Regions from separate parts of the Homo sapiens genome. Here all the other regions are linked to region 2. The links are contacts of gene promoters, found by promoter capture Hi-C in human tissues and cell types (Jung and others, 2019). All regions are on one chromosome and are shown on one strand. Each heading gives the region's core, a stretch centred on a gene start or on the middle of the fragment in contact. The rest is flanking DNA. Distances are from core to core; before and after follow the strand shown.

Region 1 (2,700 bases), core at 113-2,612, 160 kb after region 2:
ACATATTTATATGTTGTACTTCAACTAGATTATAAACTTCTAAAAGGCAAGGATTGCTTCCATGTCTTTAAATCTCCCATGGTAGCTGTAGCTAGCACAGGACTTAAAATCATTATCATAAGCATGATTTAGTGAGCAATTATTAAACTCTTTATTGATACTTTTGATGTGATGAATGCATGTCTTAACATAATTTTAAGCACATAAAGGCAATGACCGATTTTTGAAGGATATAGGACAAATATGCAGTTTCTACATGTACAAATTGAACATAGCCATACCCCCTGCATTTTTCTAATAACTAGACTTTGTCACATATTACTTCCTCTATTTCTTAAAAGGTTTTAGTTTACTAATTTTTTCGTTCCTTCTTTAGTAATTGCATTTTTTTTTTTAGGTTTCCTTAATAAACCCTGTGAAAAGCAATGTGCTAAATAAATTATATGCAGGGCAAAGCAATACATTATAATTAGGCATTCCATTATTGAATTGATGCCTCTGGCTTCTCATGGTCTCTGTCTAATCCTGAAACAAATTCTTTTTGTGGACAAATATTAGCCTATAATAATTATTCATCTAAGCTAACGCTTTTCATTAAATCTCCTTCTGATTAAGATAGCTCCATAAGTACAGACTGATTTAATTTAACATGATTTATCCACTTGTGTATCAAGGTCTGGTGGAAATTGTTTTTAACACCAGAGGATTGTGAATATTAAGATCATCTTTATATTAACAGATCTCTCAGGTATTTAAGACCTTGTTGTTTGAATAGTTATATAAGCCTAGGTCTGATGTCACTCTGCTAAATTCAAGAGTATCACAAGTGCTGTAACAGGCTGTCATTAAAAACAATATGGATTCTGTTTTATATTATAATGTTGGAGCTTAGAGTTAGTACATTCTTGTGTTACTTGGGTTTGGGAATCAATTTTCATTCCAGCTGGTTGGTCCAACACATTTAATGTCTTTTCTGTTTTACCAGAAGTTCAGTGTTATTAAAAACAAGTAAATCATAGATATATATTCTGAATTAAGGGTCTCCACGGACATGAATATAACTTTTTAAAAAATTTCTTGGACTTAACTGTTATTATTTCCTCACCTGTTACCATCCTTGTGCTTTTCTTCAGTTTTTTTAATGCTGGCTATGTAATAGATACCAAACACTGAGTTTAATTTTGTTTTTTTTTCACTTCTTCCTTGATCATCTTTCCCCCAATATTCCTCCCTTAATTTGTTAAATTCTGGCTTCACCACTGCTCTTCTACTTTTAGCTTTTTTTTTTTTTTCCTATCAGTAGTCAACAGACTCATTAGCATTTTTCTTCTGGCCTTTTTGTCCATTTTTTTTCTTTTTGGTCCTTTTATAGTCTTTCCTGCTTCATTATATATGCATGAGAAAGTTTGCATTGCTCTATGTGAACATGATAAAGCTACATGAATTAATTCTATGAAACCAAAGCATATATTCTAATTTGCTGCAACCAAAAATTCTTGAAAATAAACTATATAATGTCCTAATTATAATTTAGCTCCAGTTTTAGGAAATCCCAGAGAACAGAGAGTGTGTGTGTATACACTCACACTTTCAGTTGAGGGTGAAAGAGAGTGCCATGAAAGCAAAAGGAAAGGCATTCTAGCATGTGGAACTTTCTGAGGTCCCATTTCCAGCCGTATCCTCTTTATTTTCAGGTTTCTAAGAGTTGTTAACTGTTCTTTCTCTCTCCCCCTGACTCTGCTCTGCCCCATGTGTGCTGTTCTCAGAAGACAGTGGTGTGTATGGTAGGACCCTGAGTCAGTAGGCTGAAGACTTACAGAAAGAAGGTACCTTGGAGTCAGGACTGGAAGCTGAGGGATAACAGGCCAAGTCAGGCTGAGATTCTTAACTGGTCTGGGCTCTGGGCATAGCAGCAAAGAAGAGCTTACTTCATCTGGGTCAGCTGAGGGAAGTGGTTCATGAACCGCTTAGCAGACCACTTGAACTAATAGGAGGAGGATGACGCAGAACTCAAGTGAAGTACTGTGGTCATTTGCAGAAGAGTTTCTCCTGGGAGGAGGTCAGAGTAGAAATGGGCGTATCATGCCCATAAGGCAGCAATTACTGTTTTCAGAGCCGTGTCTGCACTGATGGAAATGCCAGCTCTGTGAAATTTTTTTCAAGCTGGTGGGACTCCCATGTGTCCTGTGGATAGAAAGAAAAAAAATAGCACAGTAGAAAATGAAGCTTTCTTTTCTGTGAGGAAAAGACTTTCTGTGAGGAGGTTGGTGGTTCTATTTAAAGACACAGTCTTGAGAGTTGATTAGGAAACAAGTACTTCTACAGTAATACCTTAATTAATGAAGAGGCTATATTCGGGAATGTTTAATGAAGTTTCTGTTGTTATCAGAGAGAAAATGAAGCAAGCACAGGGGATTGCATTCCAGAATGTCAGGAAAGAATTTCAGTTTAAAAACAACACTGTATGTTTAACATCGTCAAATATGCCATAACTAAAGAGTATTTATATCACGGTTTGAAGGGAGAGGGAGAGAGGAGCATATCAAACTAACATAAGCTCCTTAAACCTATAAAAGGCACCTATCATCATTGAAGAGGTCTCTAGCTTCCTGTCCTTGTGGCGCCCTGTGCCTATTCAGATGTTGGTCATTTAGTGCTGTTGACCTACTGTTAACACCACATACATGTGACCTTGACTTC
Region 2 (2,700 bases), core at 199-2,698:
AGGATTGCTTGAGTCCAGGAGGCAGGGGTTGTAGTGGGCCACAATCATGCCACTGCACTCCAGCCTAGGTGACAGAGCGAGACCCTGTCTCAAAAAAAAAAAAAAAAAAAAAAAAAGCAAAGAAAAGAAAAAAGAAAGAGCCCAGCACTGTCCTCTGTGGTTAGGGCGGTAAGGGCAACCTTGCCTCTTGGGCTGTATCACCGGACACACCTCACAATGCTAGAGCTCTCTGCAATGGAGCTGCAAAGGCTATGAGGAACCTCCGGCAAGCCCCCAAAGAACCACAGTAGAGCCCTTGAAGGTTCTGGAGCATAGCCAGGCCAACTCTTAACAACAACAAAAAAGAATTGGGAGATCTTTTATTCCAGTAATCTTATTTTAAAGGTAAAAAGGAGGCCTAAAGTCATAGGCATAATTGGCAGAATTGACTTTTGTTCTGGTGTTTCTCTCTGTAGTCATTCTTCACTTTCTGATGCAATTTTAGCACATCTTAAATATTAAAATGTTTTGGAACAAACTTAGAGAAATTATGAAGCTAATTTAGGAAAAGAGCACAAGAATCTTTGATTTACAGGCAATTTGGGGATATAATTTAGCTATATTGAAGCTATGCAGCCAACATGTAGATGGTCATTATTATTACACCATAAATTTTGTGAGGTCAGGAACCTTGTAATTTTAAAAATATTCACTCTGTGCTTTGTTGAATAAACGGATAAAACGTATAGACATACATGAACTACTGATGAGTGGCTGTGTGTGATGTGTAGCTATGTTTATTATTTTTAAGATTCTTATTGTATTTGTTGAAGGCCAAGTTGAGGAGGGAATTGCTTAAGGGAAATGAAAAGGGGTTTAACCACAGTCCCCACCATTCAGGGGCATGCAATCTAGTAGGTTAGGGGACAGGACAGACACACCATGATAGGTGATCGAGACCTTTTAAGAGCAGTGTGATGAAATTGCTATGGGAACTGGGAGGAAACATTTTCTAGGACTGGGGAAACACTGAGTGTGCTAGAAAAACTTTGTGCTCCTGATCAGGGAACCTGGGTTCTATAACTGCTTCTACTACTGATTTGTCCTGTGACTTCGCGCACCAAATTTAGGCTTGTAAATTAAACTCCCAGATTTCTGTTTTCCATTTTGCAGCTCTAGGGGTTGAATGAACCATTAGGTTCCCTCGGACAAATGACCTCCGCTAATTTCCTATTTCGTTGTTTTCTCACCCCTACACCCCACCGTTCCGTGGGTCCCTCCTCTCCAGGAGGCCAGACGAGGAAATAAGCGAGGCCTCTTTAAAGGAGCTCTCAAAGAAAGGTACCCGGGGTATCCCGGGCTGTGGAGCAAGCGCGGGGCGCCGGGGACCCGGGTTTCCCACGCAGCCGGGGACGCCGTTGCGTCACGGCGCCTGCAGCCAATCAGGACGTAGCCTTCCGGGACGCATTACTAGGGCGACGGCCGGACGCCTCCGCGTTACGGGATGAATTAACGGCGGGTTCCGCACGGAGGTTGTGACCCCTACGGAGCCCCAGCTTGCCCACGCACCCCACTCGGCGTCGCGCGGCGTGCCCTGCTTGTCACAGGTGGGAGGCTGGAACTATCAGGTGGGGTTACGGCGCGAGGAAAATGGCGGCGGCCGGGGGATCTCAGAGGTGCAGGAAGGGGAGCTGCAGCCCGGGCTTTTCCTCCTGAGCCATGGACCTTCCCCGGGCCGCGACCTCGGGTAACGGCCACTGGCCTGGCATTTGGGGTCCCGGTGCAGGTGGCGGTAGCGTCGCTGGCTCAGGTGGAAGGAGGCGCGGGGAAGCGACTCCTGGAGGCTGGCTGAGGCGTCAGGTGCTGAGGGGCCGCGCGAGCGGCGAGGGCGAGGTAGCCGCGGGGCGAAGAGGGTCCCGTCGGTGTTTACGCTAGGAGCGTCAAAACCTTCCTCCTGCGACCTCAGCGGGTCTGGGAGCTGCACTGTCCCGGAACGCAACCTGAGGTCTGACCCTGTTAAATCCCATGCACTAAAACGTCTCAAGTGGTCACCACGTGCGGGGCTTCGACGAGAGCCGTGGAGAGCAGGGGCTGGGGTTGTCTTCCCTGCGAGTCCTGCAGGCGCCAAAGGCCTGCCTGTAGGTGCCAGAGTGGCAGTGCCGCGAAAAGAAAGGTAGGCCCTAGCCAGGGCGGATGCCAAACCTGATCTTTAAGGTGTATCGTAGCTTCTAATTGCCCATTTGAAGAAAAGAAGTTGAAAGATAAGGCACTTAGATGTGGTTGTGGAGATGTTTTGCTTTCTTGTACTTCCCTGGTTCAGGTGGCTTCCCTGGAAATACTGCATCTGCCTTTAAAGTTCATTAACTGTGTTTCTTGTGTACATGGCAGTAGATGAGATTAGGGATTGAAGTCACTTTAAGTCCAAGAAAAGTATTGAAGATATGTGTTGAAGGCATTACCAAGATGAAATATTTATTCATATCATTAACTTATTTGTTCAAAGAAACGTCATCTCATGAAGTATAACTACGTGGGTTAGTTTTCAAAAAACTGACTTGATGAAAGCCCTTTTTGTAAAACATATTTTTTGAGAGTAAGTAAAAATACATCATCACTTTTTCGTTTAGGTTTCTGTTGCACATTGTACTTTGATATGCTTGATATGACAGATAAGCATAATGTTAACTGACTTTTGTTTTTGGTAGTAGGCTTGATTTTATG
Region 3 (2,700 bases), core at 88-2,587, 160 kb before region 2:
TCAGCCTCCTAAAGTGCTGGGATTACAGGCATGATCCACTGCGCCCGGCCTTATTATTTCTTCCTTCTATCTCTCTATTCTTTTTGTGGGGACTGCAAAAAGAATTATTATATGTTATTGTATATAAGCTATATGTTATATTATCTTGCTTGAAGTTGTTCTGCAGCTCACTGATGCTGTTTACTGTTTTTCTTCAGTCTGCAGTGTCCAATTCATTCTTATTCCCATCTAGTGTGTTTTTCCATCTCAGACATTAGAGGTTCTTGTTTGTTTGTTTTAATCTCTACAAGTTTGATTTAGGTCTTCTCCTTTAAATATCTACCACCATCTCTTTAATATGCTCATGCATTCCTCTGTCTTCTCCATAAATATATGGAGTATATTTACCTCATTTAAAATACTGTTCTTGTCTATTCACCTGTGTCATTTCTGTATCTATTTCTATTGATTGATTTTTCTCCTCTTTATATTGTTTTCCTAGTTCTTTGACGCCTGATAATTTTTTATTGGATGCCAGATTAGTGCTGAATGCTAGGTTTCTTCTTTAAATGCTTTTGAGTTTTATTCTGGGACTCAATTAAGCTACTTGGAAACAACTTGATTTTTCAAGACTTGCCTTCAAGCTTTTTACCTGGGTCAAAGCAACTTTTAATCTAGGGCCAATTTTTCCCATTACTGGTCCAGGCAGCGAGGTGCCATCAATGATTTTTAAGCAAGACAGAGACATGATAGAATTTGCATTTAAGAAAACCACTCTGGCAGCATGAAGAAGATAGAGGGAAGAGATGGGAAGGACAGAGAGAGACCTAAGGCAGAGCTCACTGTTTATTCAGCCCAGGTAGTGAAGAAGGCAGGAGCTCAGGCTGCAGCCACTGTGGGGGTCTGAAATATCAGGATTGGAATCAATGGTGCTTGATGTGGGTAAAGTAAAATGGAGAAGGGTGAGTCTGAAATAAGCTGAGGTTTCCTCATTTCTGGGGGTTTCAGAGGAAATGAGATCCCACAGGAAGCCATTAACAGGGTTGCCAGGAGTTTCTAATCCCCCTTTTGTGAGTCTCTCTTTCATTACCAGGGGGCTGATGGCAGGAAGAAGAAAAGTCAGGACCACATAACCTAGCACTGCCCCTTTGGGTATCTGTGGGCCTTTTTCTCTGCTAGCTCAAAAGAATGTCAGTGTCCAAGACCCTGAGTATTGGTGATTTCTCCTGCTTATGACATCACAGACTACCTTCTGTTCAAGGAAAAAATTTCTCTCTGTAAGTGTACCATCTGGTGTCTGGTAGAGCTTGGCAAATTAGAGTCTTTTATAGCACTGTGTTTTTATAATGTGACATGAGGCCTCAAAATTACATTAATATCTCCAGTGCTGCAATTATATTAGTCCAGGGTCAAGTCCGTCTCTCTAATGAAACAGTGTTGATGAAGAATTTCATTCATAAAATGTTGAAATGGCCTCCCCAGCTCTCACTGAGCTAGCCAGAGAAATTTCCTCTAGGCCCATAGAGACTATGTTTAGTCTCAATCTGTGACCCATCTTCCATCTCCATTTTCAGAAGAAAGTGTTCCTTCATAAGCTAGGTATCATTTCCCCTTTTCTTTGATGCACCAACATGTTTTCTAGCAGGAGATCCAAGAACGTTCATCAAGTGTACGTTGAAACCATGAAACCTTTAGGTTTAAAGTGCACTTTGTCCACACCAGGGTAAAGAAAGAGTTAAGTTTAAAAAAAAAAAAAAAACCAAAAAGGAAAGTTTGACAAGTGAGACTCATTCACTTCCTCTCTCTCTAGCTCTCCTGGTTGTGAATTTGACCAAGAGTAAACTTAAGTGTCTTCAATTAACCCTTCCAAGTAAAAGAGTGCCTCCCCTGCTTCCAAGGGCCCAGGAAAGCCGTGAACTTGGGTTACTTGCAGGGGCTGTTGTTTCCCTTGGAATAAAAAATGTTTGAGGCTCAAACCTGACAGCCGAAGAAAAAGGGAATTATGAACATAATATCACAGTTTATACACTTAGCAAGTTTTGAGAGTGTTCTCTCATTTCCTCTATTTTCTGTGTGTCTTTCACACATGCATGCACACTGAAATAAGCCAGCCTAAATATATTGGCAAAGTCACACTCAGGGTGTGTTGTAGTTCTTAATTGAAGCCATTAGAAAACAAAAAACCAAAACATTCACTGACGACAACAGAGCTCCTCCTCAGGATTAAACTCTCCTCTGTTTTAAAAGGAAAAAAATCTGAAGCAAAGGGTTAAATTATTTGCACAATTAATGTCCTACAAATCATCTGAAAAAAATGCGAGCCCTAAGTCTGCCTTCCAAAGCTGGGAAAATGCTAACTATGGTCTCTGTCTCCAAACAGGCAGCTTTTAAATGATCCTAAATACCAAAACATGCCCAGGCTCTATTTCTTCAGTGCTGAAGCTGAAATTTACAACATAACCAACCTCAAAACATTTGGTTTCCAGCAGTGCCTGGATATGTCCAAGCCTGATTTTGCACAAGTCTAGGGTAAAAGAACAGAGGAATCCAGGAGAAGCAATAAATTGGGTGGACTAGGGAGGGGGTAAGAGAGGTAATTGGTGAGGATAGAAGAGGCATGAAGTCTAACAAAATTCAAATGGTAGCCTAAAAAAAAGTCTCCTAAAGGGTTAGAAAGAGACACTATAGTATTAAAAGTTATTTTTCAGAAAAAGAATAAAA

What was found. Contacts are between HindIII fragments. The study calls those that stand out against the background at their distance.
Region 1: a contact is called between a fragment that was not itself captured here and the fragment with the promoter of LCLAT1 in region 2, in 1 of the 25 tissues and cell types used here (liver).
Region 3: a contact is called between a fragment that was not itself captured here and the fragment with the promoter of LCLAT1 in region 2, in 2 of the 25 tissues and cell types used here (H1 embryonic stem cells and stomach).

The regions. Positions count from the first base shown.
Region 1 is chr2:30,609,806-30,612,505 of GRCh38, forward strand. All of the region lies in intron 5 of LCLAT1 (lysocardiolipin acyltransferase 1), which reads left to right. Among named protein-coding and RNA genes, the nearest start is that of LCLAT1, 160 kb to the left of the region's middle. The HindIII fragment of the contact is 4,699 bases long and covers 1-2,700 here.
Region 2 is chr2:30,445,798-30,448,497 of GRCh38, forward strand. LCLAT1 (lysocardiolipin acyltransferase 1) reads left to right here and starts at 1,449. Exons shown (of 6, transcript NM_001002257.3): 1 at 1,449-1,586. RefSeq lists enhancers at 1,139-1,876, 1,180-1,249, 1,290-1,349, 1,560-1,679, 1,877-2,613. The HindIII fragment of the contact is 9,254 bases long and covers 1-2,700 here.
Region 3 is chr2:30,286,385-30,289,084 of GRCh38, forward strand. No RefSeq gene overlaps it. Among named protein-coding and RNA genes, the nearest start is that of LBH, 56 kb to the left of the region's middle. RefSeq lists enhancers at 1,729-1,778, 2,670-2,700. The HindIII fragment of the contact is 8,232 bases long and covers 1-2,700 here.